Linked DNA regions of Homo sapiens: region 2 is linked to region 1. Evidence: promoter capture Hi-C in 16 types of primary human blood cells and fetal thymus (Javierre and others, 2016). All regions are on one chromosome and are shown on one strand. Each heading gives the region's core, a stretch centred on a gene start or on the middle of the fragment in contact. The rest is flanking DNA. Distances are from core to core; before and after follow the strand shown.

Region 1 (3,435 bases), core at 745-3,244:
TCTCAAAAAAAAAAAGTGTATGTTTCTTCTCCTGTTAATTTGTCTATTGTCAGTTCATTTTAGCAGTGAACACTCAGAGGGTGGAGGGGAAGCCCCTACAAGAGCTTTAAAAGCTACTGATGCTTGGGTCTCACTCAGAGATTCTGATATATTCAGCCCAGGTGTAAGATTTTAAAAGCTGCCCAGGTGATCCTAATGCCAAGGCTGAGGCCCCTGGAGGAACCCTGCAGAGCTGCACTCACTACTCAGCAATCCCAATCCACACGTGAAGGGTTAAGCAGGAGTACATTTGGGTGCAGGGGGCAGGGCATTGTTTTGGGACTCAGGGGCCTCTGAGGAGGCTTGTGGCCTGAGTTTCTGCCAACAAACTGAATGCCTCCTCTTCCCATAACAAAGCGTAGAAGCGGGAGGCATTTGCATTTGCCGCAAGGGGCTGTGACTTCTCTGAATTTGTCCCTCAAGCCCCAGGTGCTTCAGCCTTGGTGGGTGATGAAGCAGAGCAGCCTGGGGGTGACCTGTGCTAGGGTCCAAGGGTTTCCAAGCTCCTCAGAAAATCATACTGGCTTCAGTGGAGCTGCAGAGCCACTTGCAGGAGAACCTGGATGTGCTGTCCTTTGGAAGAGTGGCCATAAGGGTCTACGAGTTCATTTTAGGGTGGGCTCAGAAATCAGATTGACTCAGCAGGCCCCAGAGAGGAACCTGCACTTTTTTTTTTTTTGACGGAGTCTTACTCTGTCGCCCAGGCTGGAGTGCAAGTGGCGCAATCTCCACTCACTACAACCTCTGCCTCCTGGGTTCAAGCAATTCTCCCGCCTCAGCCTCCCCAGTAGCTGGGATTACAGGCATGCCTGGCTAATTTTTGAATTTTTAGTAGATACCGGGTTTCGCCATGTTGGCCAGGCTGGTCTCTTGAACTCCTGGCCTCAAGGGATCCGCCCGCGTCAGCCTCCGAAAGTGCTGGGATTACAGCCACCGCGCCCCTTCAATTAACTCCTATTTTTTTGTTTGTTTTTTGGAGACAGAATTTCGCTCTATTGCCCAGGCTGGAGTGCAGCGGTGCAATCACATTCACTGCAGACTTGACCTCTAGGCTCAAGCTATCCTCCTGCCTCAGCCTCCTGAGTAGCTGAGACTACAGGGACGCACCATCATGATTGGTTAATTTTTGTATTTTTTGTGGAGATGGGGGTCTCCCCATGTTTCCCAGGCTAGTCTTGAACTTCTGAGCTCAGGCAATCCACCCACCTCGGCCTCCCAAAGTGCTGGGATTACAGGCACAAGCCACCGCGCCCGGCAAACTTATCTCCTACTGATGGATATTGCAAAATTTTTCTTCTACCAAAAAAAAAAAAAAAAAAAAGATAGATATAATCCATACCATCTGTTCAATCTTGTCCTTTTTAACTTTTTCAGGGAAACTTCCCCCAGGTGATAGATGGATAGATACATGAGATAGACATAACGCATACGATCAGTTCAATCTTATCTTTTTTAACTTTTTCAGAGAAAACTTCCCTTAAGTGAACATTTAAATCTGAATTACGTCCTGTTAAACTGTTCTCCAGGAAAATAAAATAAAATAAATCTTCAAGTTTTTGTTTACCTAACAATTTGTTGTGTCGAACAAACCTTCCTACTTTTCAGGTAACAAAATGGCAGCTTAGGCTAGAAAGCCGCTCATATTCGCAGGTACAAGGGCTGGGTAAGAACGCCCCGCCTGGCTGACTAACTTGAGTTCCGCGCTCTGGACAGGAATTATGCACAGGGCGTCGCTGTGGCACTAGAAACCCCAAAGTCACAAGCGCCCCAGATCCGACCAGGATGCCGCTACCGGCTACAGCCCAGAGGCCCGCTCCTGCGGCGCAAGCCCGCCTTCCTGAAGAAAAAGCCCAGTCCCGGCAGCGTTCTTCTCCGGCTCCGCCCTTCTTCCGCTCGACTTTCTTTGCCATTGGCTGACAACGGAGTACATAAGGACGTCATTTCCTGCCGCCTGTCTTTTCCGTGCTACCTGCAGAGGGGTCCATACGGCGTTGTTCTGGGTGAGTTCCGTGTAGCGTCCCTGGCGCCTTCCAGGGCTAGAAAAATGAGCTTTTCCTGCTCAAATGAAGGGTGAGAAGACTAGTGATGAAAGCCGGTCAGACTGGATCTGTCTCCCGCCCGGCGCGCCCCACCTTAGGCCTGCGGCCCGCACGTGGCCAGGCTCGGGCTGGCGGGTTCCCAGAGTGCCCCGGGAGCGGGTGGAGGCCGCCCTCCAGCGGAGGCTCCGAGCTGGGGTTCGGACCAGGCCGCGGGTGGGCGGGAGTGCAGAAAGCGGGCTAACATCCTGTGTTGCTATCCCTTCGGAGTCCCACACGGCGGTGAGTCTAGGCCCAGGCGCTGATTTACACCAGCTACTTGGGCTGGTCGGGTTTTCCCTTCGCGCCGTGCGGGTCAGGAGTTAAGGTTCTCGGGTTTTTAGACAAACAAGTGGTGACAGCACAGCGAAGTAATTCCAAAGCATCCGCCTACAATCTGCTTGAAAATGTCTGAAAACAATTCATGCCTTTTTTGCCTTTAGTTTGCATATTCCAAACATGGCTGCTCTTTTGTATCTAGTTGTTAACTTGGCGCATCCACAACTTTTCCTTAATTCCTATCTTGAGAAGTGTTGAATTTCCATTCGCTAATTTCGTGTAGTTTTATTACTCGGTTACTCTGCCGTCCACACTATTTCCTCAGTAAGATGTGCGCTGTTCCGTAATACACGACATGTATGGGTTAACTTTCTGTTTACCCTTCACTACACTGTAAGCTCAATGCCTGACACTATAGCAGATGGAGTTTTTGGTTGCTTTTAAGGGTGTGCCCTACTTAACTCAATGGAATGAAAAGAAATAGGTTGCTCTCTTATTTCAGATTCCCGTCGTAACTTAAAGGGAAATTTTCACAATGTCCGGAGCCCTTGATGTCCTGCAAATGAAGGAGGAGGATGTCCTTAAGTTCCTTGCAGCAGGAACCCACTTAGGTGGCACCAATCTTGACTTCCAGATGGAACAGTACATCTATAAAAGGAAAAGTGATGGTTAGTCATTGCTTTAATTTTTTGTTACTCCAGCTGTAAGTACAAATTTTGAGCTTGCTATTCTCGTGGTTAGTTCTGGGTAATTTCTTTCTATCTTCCTTAAATGAAGCCAGACCCCTACGTTGAAAACATACTTTAAATAAATGTTCTTGTTATTGAGAGAAAAGATTTCTGCTCCAGGGGAGGAATATGTCAGTTGTCTGAGTTACGGGACTTGGGTTGGGTCATGAACATGAGAAAGTTCATTGGCTGAGTTTCTAATAGCTCGCATAGTGCCTTCAACTTCATAGGTACTTACACAGGCTATTGAACTGAATTTTGAGTGGAAAGTGGGGTAAGAGGTGGGAATGAACAATATGGTTTGGAAGAACCAG
Region 2 (3,615 bases), core at 352-2,851, 2.6 Mb after region 1:
GGGGGAGGGCTCGGCGCGCGTCGGGCGGTGACGGCAGCGCGGAGGGGAGGTGCAAGCCGCCCGCTCGCGGGGGAGCCATGGCGAGAGGCCGCGCGGCGGCGCCCGCAACAGTGCCCGCGTCCGCAGCAGCGCCCCCGCCCGCCGCCCCGGGGCCCACCCGGCCGCCGCCCCCGCGCGCCCCGAGCCCTTGACGCCCGCGCGCCTCAAGCGAGGCGTCCCCCAGAGTGGGGCCGCGCGCGGGAGAGCCGGAGCGCAGCCTTAGCGTCCCCGAGAGTCTCGAACGCCCCGACGACCCCCGCGTCTCGGAACCCCGGACTCCGAGCCCAGGAGCGCCAGAGCGGCAGGCGGGCAGCAGGAGGCGGCGGCGCCAGAGCGGAGCCCCCGCGAGTGCCCCCGTGCCGCCCGGCCGGCTGCAGCGGAGGGAACCGAAGCCGCCGGGCGGCCGGGGCCGGGCCGAGAACGACGCGGAGGAAGCCCCCACCGAGGCCCCCCGGCACCGCGCCTGCTGCCGGGTTGCGCTCCGTGCACCTCTTGCGGGTAAGCCAGGGGTCCGCTCACCCGCGCCGCCTGCGCCTCGGGCCCAGGGGCTGGGGAAGGACACGGGTGTTCTGGGAGTGTCCGCGTGAGATAGTGGCGGCGTGAGAGGCCGGGCGCCGGGACCCTGCGGGGACAGCCCTCCTAATGCACCGGCCGCACCTGCAGGAGGCCCTCGGAGCCCGGAAAAGTGCCCCTAGGGCATCGTGTCGGCCACGCCGCGTGGCCTGGATTCCGCGCTCCGGCACTCCGAGGTGACAGTGAGGCGACCTTCAAAGAGCCTGGAGCTGAGCGCGGGCAGCACCCCGATTCCCACTCACCCGCAAAACTTGATGAAAATGACATCATCTGAGCGTGTCAGAGAGCAGAGAGCCTTTAGAGCCCTCCTTTGCATCCTTGAGAGTTAACAAGTTTACTTTGTCACTTTCTTGACCTGATTTTTAAAGTTCTTTTCTAGTCTCCAAGGTCAAGCTCTTGCAGGTAAAAACAAATGTAATGAACTGTATCGTTTCTTCTTTTGTAAAGTTGTGTTTCAGGAAAGATGTTAAAAGTCGGCCTGCTCTTGAGGCTGGTGCTGGGTGCCCCTTCCGCTTTAAGCTTGCCTGTTTTAGAACCCGTGGCTGCACTTGTTCAGACACTGAAATTAGCGTCCGCTTTGAGAGCCTTCAGAGTATTCGTCGTTGGACCGCTGATTTTTTTTTTTTTCTGATATGCTTCACTGGAACTTTATTTGCTTCAAAAGTGTAAACGTTGTCAATACTGTCTGTGAGTGTGTATTCGGGACTGGTAACCTTTTCTGGAGGGTCTTTTGTTTATCTGGAAGGAGAGTGGAGGTTACCATAGGGAAACGGTCTAGTTCCAGGGTCCTTTCCAATTTCCAACTACAAGAGCAGCGAAGAGGAAGGTGCTCAGACTAAGCTCTGATTAGCCCTGGAGCCAGTCTGCACTGGGGAGGGTCTCCCCAGATTGAGTGAAGGGACAACAGGCTGGGAGCTTGACTGGTAGGTTTGGAGAGTTGGACCTGGAGTGACAGATGGCGCCTTCCCCTCTGTCTCTCGGTTTGGAATGGTCATACTCGGTTGCTCTTTGATCTTGGACCTCAGCTTTGTCACAGAGGTTCCCAGCCCAGTGTAGCCTAAGCCAGCTGGAAAGCTGAGCCCGGCTCTGGGGGATGCTGAATCGGTTTAAAGCCCTTGTCTCAGGGCTGCGAGTTTGGCAACAGTTGGGTTTCAGCTTGGCCCCAGCACCAGCCGTTTCCTGTTTGATGCCCCAGGGACCAGTTTCCCATCCCCAGCGCTCGCTTGAGGGTGTCTCCACTCTGGCTGTGTTGCTTCTCCTTCTCTGTGGTCTTGGAGTGGGAAACCTGGACTGAAATTCCAACTCCTCTCTATTGGCTGTGTGACCTTACTTAACCTCTCTGTCCTGCTCTCCCCTCTCTGGGAGACAATGTTTTAAATGGAGGTGTCTGTAAAAGTTTGACTGAATGACATGGGAGCGTTTTCAGGTCTCCTTCCAACATGATTGGGTTTGTAATTTGGTAAGCTTTTTGAGCCCCAACAGGGATAATAAAGCATATAATAGTAATTATTGTTTTATAGGTTTATTATGAGGGTCAAATCAGGTAATATAAAAGAGCTTTGGGCCGGGCATGGTGACTTGTGCGTGTATTCCCAGCATTTTGGGAGGCTGAGGCAGGTGGATCACTTAAGGTCAGGAGTTCGAGACCAGCCTGGCCAACATGGTGAAACCCCGTCTCTACTAAAAATACAAAAATTAGCTGGGCATGATGATGGGCACCTGTAATCCCAGCTACTAAGGAGGGTGAGTCAGGAGAATAGCTTGAATCCGGGAGGCAGAGGTTTCATTGAGCCAAGATCCCGCCACTGCACTTCAGCCAGGGCGACAGAGCAAGACCCCATCTCAAAAACAAAAACAAAAACAAAAAACATAAAAATAAAAGGGCTTTCAAAAATAATAGAGCACTATTCACATTGAATGGAGTTCTTAAACTTTCACTTTCCAAACTAACAACACCTTAAGGTTTGCCATCTTAAGTGGACTTTGTTCCTGTCATTGCATTCTGGTTTTTTGTTTTTTTTTTTCTTTTTGAGTCAGAGTGTCGCTCTGTCATCGAGGCTAGAGTGCAGTGGTGCGATCTTGGCTCACTGCGGCCTCCACCTCACAGGTTCAAGTGATTCTTTGGCCTCAGCCTCCCGAGTAGCTGGGATTGCAGGCACCTGCCACCACGCCCAGCTAATTTTTGTATTTTTAGTAGAGACGGGGTTTCACCACTTTGGCCAGGCTGGTCTCAAACTCTTGACCTCGAGTGATCTGCTGGCCATGACCTCCCAAAGTGCTGGGATTATAGGCGCAAGCCACCACTCCCAGTCCCTGTCGTTGCATTCTGAGTCCCTGCCTCTGACCTTGTATATAGTAGGCCTCTGTAATTGTTTGGTGATTCTTGAATTAACCATCTGGGCTCTCCATCTTGACTTCGTGCTCCCAAGGTAGAGAACAGACCTTGGGCATTCTCCTCTCCGTCAGCTGTCGGAGTTTTTATAGATGCGATTGTTCTGTAGCACCATATAGCTCATAAGAGAGCCAAGGAGAGTAAGCAGATAGGTGGCCAGTTTTTCTGCAAGGGACAGTTCTTTTTTTACCCTTTGGGGCTCAAGTAAGAAAGGCATTGGAGGGCGAACAGTCATTTAAACTCACTGAGAGTTGCAGATATTCAGTAAAGCCTTTTGTGCATGCCAGAGCTTAATACTGTATGGTCGGGAAGTTTGATAAACTTTAAAGTACCATGACCAGCCTCTTCACATATATGATTCTGTGACCCTTGGTTTTGAAAATGGACTCTGACCACTGGCTGCGGTGGCTCACACCTGTAATCCTAGCACTTTGGGAGGCCAAGGCAGGTGGATTGCCTGAGCTCAGGAGTTCGAGACCAGCCTGGGCAACATGGTGAAACCCCGTCTCTACTAAAACACAAAAAAAGTAGCCGGGCGTGGCAGCATGCGTGTGTAATCCCAGCGACGTGGGAGGCTGAGGTAGGAGAATTGCTTGAACCCAGGAGGTGGA

What was found. Contacts are between HindIII fragments. The CHiCAGO score rates a contact against its expected background, and 5 or more counts as called.
Region 2: a contact is called between a fragment that was not itself captured here and the fragment with the promoter of RPSA in region 1, in 3 of 17 cell types (activated CD4 T cells, naive CD8 T cells and non-activated CD4 T cells). The highest score is 6.7, in activated CD4 T cells.

What each region holds. Positions count from the first base shown.
Region 1 is chr3:39,404,726-39,408,160 of GRCh38, forward strand. It overlaps RPSA (ribosomal protein SA), which reads left to right and starts at 1,995. Exons shown (of 7, transcript NM_002295.6): 1 at 1,995-2,039; 2 at 2,896-3,061. The coding sequence starts at 2,929. RefSeq lists enhancers at 1-130, 1,716-2,507, 1,889-2,028 and a silencer at 2,199-2,378. The HindIII fragment of the contact is 4,276 bases long and covers 1-3,435 here.
Region 2 is chr3:42,013,581-42,017,195 of GRCh38, forward strand. It overlaps a transcript of TRAK1 not described here. Among named protein-coding and RNA genes, the nearest start is that of ULK4, 53 kb to the left of the region's middle. RefSeq lists silencers at 1-41, 132-201, 242-401, 462-531 and enhancers at 722-861, 1,255-1,756. The HindIII fragment of the contact is 945 bases long and covers 1,130-2,074 here.